3 separate regions of the Homo sapiens genome follow, and regions 1 and 3 are each linked to region 2. The links are contacts of gene promoters, found by promoter capture Hi-C in blood cells and fetal thymus (Javierre and others, 2016). All regions are on one chromosome and are shown on one strand. The core of a region is centred on a gene start or on the middle of the fragment in contact, and the rest is flanking DNA. Distances in the headings are between cores, read along the strand shown.

Region 1 (3,671 bases), core at 726-3,225, 220 kb after region 2:
CTTTTGGGTCCAAGATTTTAAAAGAAGCTTTGTCCCTGGCACATGCCAGATCCTCAACTTCAGCACCTCATTAATTTCTTACCCCAAGTCTATGAGGGAGGCGCTCTCCACATTGCAGATGAGGAGTTGAGGCTCAAGGAAGGTGAGTCCCTTTGGCTGGCCTGCTTGGGAATGGGGAAGGCTAAGCCCCCATCCCAGTAAGTACCCTGTTCCCACATCTGTTCTTAGTTCTGAGTTGCCAGGAATCTGCAGTGGGAGGATAGGATGTGAGGGCTGTGGAGATCCCGATCCTACCCTGACCAAGGACCCTGCAGGCACACAGTTTGAGAGCAAGCTTGACATGATGACATCCCCAGCTACTACCTCTCAGATGCCGCTTATTTTACAGGGGCTCCTCCAAGAGCCCCATATCCATTCCTGGGTTACGCTGAACCCTCCATGCTCCCCAAATCTCCTGTCAGTATCAGGCACTCAAAGGTGCAGAAAGCCCAGGGATCAGCCTCTTCCTCCCCCTGCCAGGGGCCAGATTCTTCCCAACAAGGGCTCTCCACCAGAGGGTGGGGTGGGCCAGGCCTCATTTGAAACAAATGAACCCATCTCTCAGACCAGTTCTCTCTGATACCTTCAAAGCCATATTTCTTAAGAGCCATATCCAAATCTGTCATCTCCCCTTCCTTCCCTCCTGTACACTCCCACCCACCACTGAGCCATGGCTCTCCAAAGCTACTATGTGGCTGCCTCCCACTCCGGGAATGTTGTCCCTCCACCAGCATGACCTGGAGAACTCCTGACTTGCATTAAGCTTGCACACGCCTTTCTCCAGGAAGCCTCTCCTGCCATCCCCATCTTACAGATTCAGAAATGGAAGGTGAGAAAGATTGGATAATTTTCTAAAATCATCCAATTTTAGCAGTGGTTCGGTCCAGAAGTCACCAGTTGGGTCCGGTGACTTCTTTAAATTCCTATCCTTACCAAATTGTAGTTGCCAATTTGCCTACCTTTTGCCAGAGTTTTATAATAAATAACTATTATTACCAGCTATCCTCATAGAGACCTGACTGGCAGCATCTCATTTAATCTTCACAACCTCATAATCCCCATTTGACTGATAAGGAAGCTGAGACCCAGAGAAGTAAAATCACTTGTCCAAAGCTACACAGCTAAGCAGCTTAGCCGGGATGGAATCGAGGGAGTCTAACTCCAAATTGTGAAATCAGTGCCCACCAGAGCTCTTAACCTTGATCCAGGGCGGGGTCTGCTTCCCCAGCTAGTACTCAGGACCCAGTGCCCAGAGCAAGGGACATCAGACATTCATTCCACAAATAAAGATGGAGCCACTGCCTGTTGAGCGATGGACTTTGGGGGTAGTGTCATGAATTCCAGCTTGAAGGGCTCAGATTCTAGGGGAATTGCAGATGGTCACATGCCCTAGGGCAGAGGAAACCAGCTCTGGGAGATGAGAGTGGGCCAATGTCCAAAGTTTCCTCTTCACCCTGCCTGCTCTGCCCTGCCCCAGCAGGGAAAATCCAATGTCCTCACCAGAAGCCAAGCCACCTTCTGGCCACAGCTGTGACCCTGACCTTGTCACAGACTAAGCTCTAACCTCATCCTACATGAGCCCTGGTCACTGCCCTCACCTTGGCCATGTTCCCTCCCCCAGCCAGTGGCATAGGTATCATGACCCCCACATCGCCACCGTTAACCCTGCATTGCCTGATCCATATGGGAAGGGGATGAGCTGTGGGGGGTCAAATAATCTGCTCATCCTCCTTTCATCTCCACTGAGGGCCCCCAAAGTGAACCTGGAGTTGGAGCTATGCATGGCAGGCAGGTGGGCTTGGAAGTATGTGGCTTTGCAAGGGTCAGATTGGAAGAGGTGCTGGACTTCATAACGGGCACACAGAGCTCATAAATTCCTCAAAGGAGATTCTCACCTCCCCTCTTGGCTCAGGGATGGGGGCCCAGTGGATAGGAGAAGAACCCACTGGGAGAGTTCCAGGGTCCCGGTGGGTCTCAGGGCCAACCACCGGCCAGTGGCCCTTTGAAGGAGTCGGGGCTCTTAGTTCCCTATACAAACTGTTATCCATTAACATCCAATTATCCCTTGGTCCGAGCCATTAATTATAAATCAGCCACTAATTGGGGTAATTAGCCCCCCGCAGGCTAATGGGCCGAGACTGAGGGAGGCCCCTCCGCCTACAGTCCTCCAGTTTTCCGAGGTCCTTAATGTTGGGGGTGCAGAGAAATCAGGCGGCTGGAGTTAATTTTTTGTTCTTTTAAGGCAGCAAAATGCAGCCAGGAAAGGGAAAGAAGATGGGAGAGGCCACTTTTTTGTTGCTTTTTCTCGAATCTGGCCCAGCATCCATCAGCTTTTGAGAGCAGGTAGGTGGCGGGGTAGGCCAAGGGACCTGACTGCAAGTCTTGAGAGTAGAATTGTCTGGGTAATTGCTTGATTCTCTGCTTCCTTTCTGGCAGAGATACAGCTAGCACACTGGAGATCGAGGAGACTTGGGCGGAGCCGAGATGGAGCAGGGCATAGGTTAAGACCCCAGGATGTTCCTGGCCTCTCCAGGGTACAGAAGTGGTGGCCCTGCCTGCTCAGTTAGCCTTGGCCCAAAGTCTGTCAGGGATGACCTGGTCCACTTTTGGCCATCCAGATCCAGGCCGGGGCTGGGAAACAGGGACTACAGAGTACCCTGAGGAGCAGAGCTGCTCTAGGCCCAAGTTAGGGCCTCCAAACGGCTGGAGGAACTCGGAGGAGGGTCTGTCCTGCGGGCGCAGAAAGCGCGGTTGCGGCTCCTGCTCTGCACACTGACAGATGTACAACTCATCCGGGGCACAAGCAACCCTGGAGATAGAGCTGTGGAGGCTGGAACAGGCCGGGAAACCCAGTGGGCTCCAGTGGCCTCGGGGCTCATGGAAGCAGCGCCCACAGTGGCTGTAGACCAGAGGGAAGGAGTGACCCCATCTGGGAAATGTGCTCCCTCCTGCCGCTGTCATATCCAGGGAACTCCCCTTTGCCAGCAAAAACCTGGCTAAAGTCCGAAGAACAGTTGGGGCCAGAGCCACCAGAGCTGGGATCTGTGGTCTGTCCAATCTGGGATGTCCACCCATCAGGCAACACTGGGGCAGAGTCAAATAAGCTTGGAAGAACGGACAGGTGACTAAATAGAAAGAGAGGCCACTGAACGGCGGGAGGGCTGGACATTGGAGAGCCCAGCTCGGTGCCCTTCTTACAGAAAGGGAAACTGAGACTCGCTCAAGGTCAGACAGGAGAGGCACTCAGTGCAGGATGAATGTGGAGACCAGAACACACACCCTGCCGAAAGCTCACCAACCCACCCCAGCGCCCCTCCCTACTCGTTCGGTAATGGGCTTTGGCGGGCAGCAGTGGCGTCGCCCGGGGCCTTGATTAGATATTTATTGCTGTCATTTACATGGGCACTGCGGGGCGGCCGAGCGGGACTGTGAGAAAGGGGTGGGGTGGGGGGCGAAATGGGAAGGCAGGGGTGGGGGAGGTGAAGACTGGCTCCTTGAGGAACTGGGACTGGCCGGAGGAGGAGGAGTAACTTCGAGGCCTGGAGAGAGTGGCGGGAATAGGGAGCGCAGAGGCCAAGCAAAAATGTAGACGCACCCTCCCTAGGGCTGCCTGGGGCTTCTGCGCAAGGTGG
Region 2 (3,544 bases), core at 1,039-3,538:
AAGCTCTAGAAACAAAAGGGGACAATACACCATGACTTGGGGCTTCAAAAACACTTTCACATTCATCTCATTGTCCTGTGAAATAGGTGTTTATCCCCATTTTACAGAGGAGAAAACTGAAGCTCAGAGAAACTAAACGGCTTCCATGCTGATGGAGCCAGGAAGAAGTAGAGACATGATTGAGTCCCAGGTTTCTTGATTTTGATTCCAAAAGTCCACTCATACCTCTTTGCAACACTGCCCACTTATGTAGTCATCACATATTTATTGGGTCATCGTTATTTAGGAGTACACTTCTGGGCTAGACACTTAAAAACAAATCAGATACAGGCCCAGGCTTTGCGAGAATCCTTGGACAAAAGCAGCGTAATTGCCACAGTAAGAATATGGGCATAAAAATTACTTTAAGTGACTTTCTTCCAAGTAGCTCAAAGCACTTTGCTTTAAATTCCATTTATATCTGATGACTTCCCAATTGATATTTCAGGCCCCAACCTGTGCCCAGAGAACTCTCAATGGGTATACCAAACAGCCTCCATTTGAATATTGAATTGGCTTGTCAAACTTGTCCCAAACTTGCTCTACCCCATCTCAATAAATAACAATTCCTTGCTTCCAGTGTTTCCACCGCCAAACCCTCTCTTCTCTTCACACCTTTCATCTAATCTATCAGCAAAAATTGTCAGCTCTGTCTTCAAGAAACATCCAGAATGCTCTCCATCTCTGCTACTGCCTCTCTAATCTATCAGCATCATCTCTAGCTGGACTGTAACAAACTGCTCTCCTGTGTTCCTCACTCTCCCCCCACTTTTTTCTACAAAGTAGCCAGAGTAATTTTTTCCTTTATTTTATTTTATTTTATTTATTTATTTATTTATTTATTTATTTATTTATTTATTTATTTATTTATTTTTGAGACGGAGTCTCGCTCTGTTGCCAGACTGAAGTGCAGTGGTGCAATCTCGGCTTGTTGCAACCTCCGCCTCCCGGTTTCAAGCCATTCTCTTGCCTCAGCCTCCCAAGTAGCTGGGATTACAAGCGCGCACCACCACGCCCAGGTAATTTTTGTATTTTTAATAGAGACAAGGTTTCACCATATTGGCCAGGATGGTCTCCATCTCCTGACCTTGTGATCCGCCCACCTCAGCCTCCCAAAATGCTGGGATTACAGGCGTGAGCCATCGCGCTGGCCCAGAGTGAATTTTTTTTTTTTTTTTTTTTTTTACGGAAAAGCCAGAGTATGCTACCTCTCAGCTTAAAGCCCCCAGTGCTTTCCCAAAGTCCTTTCAGTGATCCATAAGGCCCTAAAGCCCTGGCCTCTGATGCTTCTCTGACCTCATTTCCTATCACTCTGCTCCTTGCTCTTCTGGTCCAGCCACAACAGGTCTTCCTGGTCACTCCTTCCTGCAGCCACTGCACAGCTCATTCCCTCACCTCTCCTCCGATAAGCTGACTAAATGTTCCCTTTTCACAGAGGCACTCCCCATCACCTGACCGTGTTTCAATTTTCATCATAACACTTATCACCTCCTGACATTTAATATGTTTGCCTATTGTTGCTCTCCTCCCTCTAGAGTATAAATAAACTGCAGGAATAGATTGGCAGATAAGATACACGATGCTCAGTTAAACTTGCATTTCACATACACAATGAATAATTTTTTAGTGTGAGGATGTCCCAGATGTTGCATGGGATGTCTTAATGCTAAAAAATTGTTTGCTGTTTCTCTGAAATTCAAACTTTACTGGGTGTCCTACATTTTTATTTGCTAAATCTGGCAACACTATACAGGAAGACAAGGACCCTGGTTATTTTGTTCATGGCTGTATCCCCAGCGCTAGAACAGCTCCTGACACGTAGTAAGTAAGCTCTCAATAAATATTTATTGACTGAATGAATGTGTTAATTAATCTGAAACGCGCCTAAACTTTTAACAGCCTGTGTGAGAGTCAGAGAGGCGGAGCCTTCAGACTTGGTTAGTCCAGGGGGCGTGGGCGGCTGATGAACTTTCGAAGTAGGTCGAGCAGCCGGGCGCTTTGCCTGCCCCGCCCGCGCTCCGCAGGATGCAGGACTCCACCCGGCTCAGGTTCGCAGCAGGTCCCGGAAGCCCTCCTGGGGGCGGGGCCACCCTAATCGGCAGGTGGGACCCAGCCCCAGCCGGGGCAGGGCCCCTTTAACGCCCCACCTCTCCGCCACGACTTTCGCCCCGGCGTGACGTCACCCCAGCGGGCGACCAATGGGAGTGCGGCTTACTGGCAGGCGGCGCAGGCGGCCGCTGCCAAAGGGGAAGTGATCTGGGGCTGGAGCGATGGCCCGGGGCTGGAGCTCGCGGCCGCCGCCGCCGCAGCCGCCGCCACCAACGCCAACAACAACGTGTCGGGAGCAGCCGCGGCCGAAGCCGGAGCAGGGGCCGGAGTCGCGGCTGGAGTGGGGCCTGCGCGTGTGAGTGGCCGAGAGTTGCCCGTGCCGGAGACCTCAAACTCCGGGCGGGAGCGCTTTCGGTCGGCCGAGCCGCCGTCGCCCGCGGCACCGTGTCCCCAAGGCCCAGACAGCGGGGCGGGGGTCTATCAGGCGCGGGACTGGCTTCTCTCAGGCCGACCCTTCTAGCCGGGCTCCGGATCTTCCTCGGCCTCGGGCCCCCTTCACGTTCAGGACGGAGGCCGGAGAACGGTGATCATCACACACCCCAGCCGGCTTCCTGGCCAGGGCATTTTCTCTGCGGCCAAGCAGTGTTGGGATTGTAGCTGCTGGGAGCCCCCTCCTGCCGCCACCTCTCCTGCAAGGAAGGGACTGACGCGTTCCCACTTTCTTACTCTGCACCTCCCCACTCTCTTCCCATTCAAGAACGAGTTTCTCTTCCCTCTCCATTGGAAATCTTGCTCCGGAGGTCCGAAACACGTATTTTAAGCGTGCCCTTCCTCACCTCCTGGAGCACCCTTAGAAGTATTGCCTACTTATCCGGGCTGAGAATCCTTCATTTTTGACCTGGCTTTTTTTTCGCCCTTTGGGAGATAAAGGTCCCTCTCCACCCTCTACTAACACTCTGCACCCAAGGCCTTATCCTTTGGGGTCACCAGCTCCTTGGCCATTTCTATGTGATTTCCCCCACCCATCTGAGTTCCAGTTTCCTCTGGGCTCCAATCTCCAGTCCCTGGCGGATCTGGTCAGTCCCACCCCTAGGTGGGAGTGACCAGGGGGCTCTGGCCCAGGATTCCCAACCCTGGAAGGCAGCTCCAAGGCAGGAAGAGAATTGGGCATCGGGTACGAACCTGGCAGCTCAGGAGTCGGGGCTCCACTCACCCCACACAAAAAGATGAAAAAGCGCAAAGAGCTCAATGCATTGATTGGTTTGGCTGGGGACAGCCGGAGAAAGAAGCCCAAGAAAGGCCCAAGCAGTCACCGCCTGCTTCGCACTGAGCCTCCCGACTCAGACTCTGAGTCCAGCTCCGAAGAGGAAGAGGAATTCGGTGTGGTTGGAAATCGCTCTCGCTTTGCCAAGTGAGTAGTGGTGAAAGGTGGAATGGGAAGAAGGCATCTCCTTGC
Region 3 (3,800 bases), core at 175-2,674, 140 kb after region 2:
GACGCTTGGCCACAGAAGAGGAGGCTATTTCTTACCATCTCCTGACTCCAGCATTTAGCTCTCACTCCTGTCCCCACAAGGCAGGTACCTCCTTCCGCCCCTTTCAGTGTTAGGGAGAGAAAGGAAAAGCAGCAGTAACAGCAAAGGAGCTATTATCTCTTCTGAAATACTGTAAATATCATCAATTCAAGCAAGTTAGAAGAATGAACTATCTGAATCAGTGGTTGTTGGGGGGAAATGGGGTTTTATTTCTTTCGGTACCTGTGGAAACTAGGTTGACTGAGTGTTGCCTGGTAGAAATCTTTAAGGACTTGCCTTAATACCAAGATGAGGAGAACTGTTAAGAATATTTGCTGCTGTTTCTGCTCCTAGAATGTTTACATATGTGCAGATACCACTAAGATCCTGGAACCTTCCAGATAGCTGGGTCCGGCTCATCTCTAGCCCCAGTTCATTCTGCCCACCACCAGCTCCAAATGAGCAGCTCTCCCACTGTGGCTTTAAATCAGGGGCACCTCTAAGACTCCACTTCCCCCTCTCTCCCTCCACGGTAGGGTCAGCAGGGAGCCAGTGGCCTGGTATTGATGGCTTTGTCATTAAGCTTGGAGGATTGGAGGACGGGGGCTGCTGTTGATTTAACTCCAGGCACTGCCTCCACAATCTTCTTTCAAATTAGGCCATTTTGCCCATCTTATTTGGATGCCTTCACACTAGTAAAAGCCTCATATCTCCCAAAGTAGTCAGCATTTTTTTTATGAGGGACAGATTTTTATTTTCAGCCCTGCAGCTTCTTAGTTCAGCATTAGAGACTCTACTTGGTTTATTTTATTTTGTAAAAGAAAAAAAGCCCACAACACCTCCAATATCCAGGCTGGTGGCTTCCCTACTGAGTTACAAGACGACCTTGTTGGCAGAGCACTGAAATACTCGGGCAGACAGAGAGTGCTCACCGGGGAAGGCCACAAGTGCTACAGTGGCCAGGAACGCGGCCGTTTCATTAAGCAGCGCTTAGCAGTTAGGGTCTAGCGGTGCCCATGTTAGGCCCCAAGTCCATTTGACAGATGTTTCCATTTTCTCCAGGCAATGTAAATACTGCCCCGTGATTTATGGGCAAGAGGGAGGGCAAGTAATTATTTGCTGCTTGCCTCCAGGACACACACCTAGTATTCAGTGTTATTAGCCGCAATTGCTTCCAGTCGGCTGCAGATTTTATTCAGTTTAATGTGACCGGGACTTTTTTATAACTCTACCTAGTGGGTTTTAGGGCTGGGGTTTGACAGCACAGACTTGGTGAAAACACCAGAGACTAAACATTATGGAAAGATAAGGTGACCTGAATCTTGCTAACACCATTGGCTGCTTCCATACGCGGGTCTTTAATAAGCATTCTGATTTCAAGTTGGTTTCTGCCCCACTACCAGGTGTTGTATATTTTTTTCATTGTATATTTGTAAGTAGACTTTAATATATAATACCATTTCCCCCCTTTTCCCTCTCCTCCTATTTTCCCTATTTAAGGAACATTTTGGAGCTGATTGAGTTCTTTGAAGATGACACAAGGTTTTACTTGGTCTTTGAGAAATTGCAAGGAGGTACTTACCGTTGAGTATGTGTGTGGACTTCTGATTAAGACCCAGGGTGGTGATCATCCATCATGAATCCCAGAGACTTCCAAAACGAGTCAAGCTAATAAAAAGGATGAAGGACTTAAAAACTGCCCTTGATTTGGGAGAAGGGAGGCCGGAGGGAAGGATGATAATTAGCATTTTGCAGAGCTTAGAATGTCACCTGTGTGGGTATTTTATAAATGCCTTTTCATTATAATAGGAGTCATATATAGATACATTTAGTCATCGATTTATCAATCCCGTTTTGACATGTTCACTGTTTAACTACATTAATTATGGGGTGGAAGCTCTCAAATACATTGCGAAGTCTAGAAAGGCTAAAACAGAGGAGAGGAGGGTCCTATTGTTTGGGACACAGACCCAGGATAAAGGGGAAGCCTGAGAATGTGCCATCCTTCAGATGGAAAGATGCCATCACCCACACACATAATCACTGGGGTGTATACTTAAGTTGCTTTTCTGACATAATGAGGTGGGGTAGAGAAACCCTTTCCCTTCCCATCACTCCCCCAATCTTAGGACACACTTGCAGGGATGTCTGGAACTGCATGGAGGGCCACACGGAGGGGCTTGGTGGTTGAGGGAGCGTGCTTTAGAAACCAACACAGCTAAAGCTTATGTTATGTCTAGCTGCATCACTTACTAGCCATGTGATCTTGGGCAAGTCACTTAACCTTTTCTAAACAATATTCCCTTCTATAAAATAGAGATATTGATAGCACCTACCTCACTGGGTTGCTGTGAAGATTAAATGAGATAATTCATGTGAAATGCTTAGGACAGTGTCTGGTAGGCACTAAGGGCCCAATAAATGTTGGCTGCTAATATTATTAAAACAATTTGGTATGCTGGGGGATGTCTTAGAAGTATGTAGAGTAGACCAGGTACAGTGGCTCACGCCTATAATCCCAGCACTTTGGGATGCCAAGGTGGGCAGATCACTTGAGGTCAGGAGTTCAAGACCAGCCTGGCCAACATGGTGAAACCCGGCTCTACTAAAAATACAAAAATTAGCTGGGTGTGCTGGCACATGCCTGTAATCCCAGCTACTCAGGAGGCTGAGGCAGAAGAATCGCTTGAACCTGGGAGGCAGAGGTTGCAGTGAGCCGAGATCGCACCACTACACTCCAGCCTGGGCAACAGAGTGAGACTCTGTCTCAAAAAAAAAAAAAAAAAAGTATGTAAAGCATTATTCTCTGCTTTTCCTTTTAACAGATTTGGAAACGAGGCTCACTACAGCAGAGCAAGCTAGGACCTAGTCATGAGCCGGTTTTCTGGGAATGTTCCCTAGCACATTGGGATCCGTTGTTTAATCTGGCAAGCGAACAATCTTTGGCAGTTCTTCCCCTTCTCTCATGCCCTCCCCATCCCCCCTAAAAAACAGTAGACATGTGCCATTTTTAGGACAGAGAGATAATACCTTCAGCCCAGAAATGCTGGCTTCTAGTAGTAAACATAAACCACATGAAGCCAAGCCACATGTTCCTGCCTGTGTCTGCCCCTGCACCACCCAATAACACATGACTGACTGTTAATTACATGTTTGAAATGCTACATGCAGATGGGATCCTCTGTCGCCATATCAGTAAACTTAATGTAGCTTATTGAGGCCAGACCCAGTGTGGTTGGCTCAAGAGAGTCCATCCCTGCAGCAGTCAGACCACAAGTCCTGCTGGGGGATGTCTGCACAGACTCGGAGGCCTGACTGACGCCCTGGGCCTAAGTCCTGGCCTCACCCCTTACTGGTGCGTAATCTTGGGCAAGTTGCTCAACCATTTTTCTTTTTGGCTTCAGGATCTCCCTCTGTAAAACGAGAATAAGTGTACTACCCATTTTGTCCAATTGTGGTGAGAATAAGACAGTTTATTTCAAGAGTATTCCATAGCACATGGCACTAGTAACTACTCAGTAAATGTTAGCCATTGCCAACAAAACAATAATGAATGGGAAAGCTCAGGCGGAAAACCCATTTTTCCCCCCTTTTCCCAGGCCTTTACATGTCTGGCAAGGGTGTGGCATTTCCATTTGAAAGTTTGTGCTCTTGTTTGGATCAGAGATCAGATGCAGGGGAGAAAACGTTGCTGCAGAAAGGCCCCCTCAGCTCCAAGTGCCTTCAGTTTTATTCCTTTTGATTGCAGAAGCCAAATCAGCCTCAGCATCATTAGTGTTTTT

The links. Contacts are between HindIII fragments. The CHiCAGO score rates a contact against its expected background, and 5 or more counts as called.
Region 1: a fragment that was not itself captured here is called in contact with the fragment with the promoter of EFCAB14 in region 2 in 2 of 17 cell types (neutrophils and erythroblasts); the score reaches 7.1 in neutrophils.
Region 3: a fragment that was not itself captured here is called in contact with the fragment with the promoter of EFCAB14 in region 2 in 8 of 17 cell types (monocytes, M0 macrophages, M1 macrophages and 5 more); the score reaches 7.1 in monocytes.

What each region holds. Positions count from the first base shown.
Region 1 is chr1:46,492,916-46,496,586 of GRCh38, reverse strand. The region is part of intron 2 of DMBX1 (diencephalon/mesencephalon homeobox 1); the gene reads right to left. Among named protein-coding and RNA genes, the nearest start is that of DMBX1, 4.9 kb to the right of the region's middle. RefSeq lists an enhancer at 3,625-3,671. The HindIII fragment of the contact is 2,341 bases long and covers 805-3,145 here.
Region 2 is chr1:46,717,858-46,721,401 of GRCh38, reverse strand. EFCAB14 (EF-hand calcium binding domain 14) reads left to right here and starts at 2,288. Exons shown (of 11, transcript NM_014774.3): 1 at 2,288-3,499. The coding sequence starts at 3,315. RefSeq lists silencers at 2,064-2,113, 2,434-2,483. The HindIII fragment of the contact is 11,051 bases long and covers 1-3,544 here.
Region 3 is chr1:46,572,739-46,576,538 of GRCh38, reverse strand. MKNK1 (MAPK interacting serine/threonine kinase 1) reads left to right here. Exons shown (of 13, transcript NM_001135553.4): 6 at 1,519-1,592. Among named protein-coding and RNA genes, the nearest start is that of KNCN, 23 kb to the right of the region's middle. The HindIII fragment of the contact is 1,641 bases long and covers 604-2,244 here.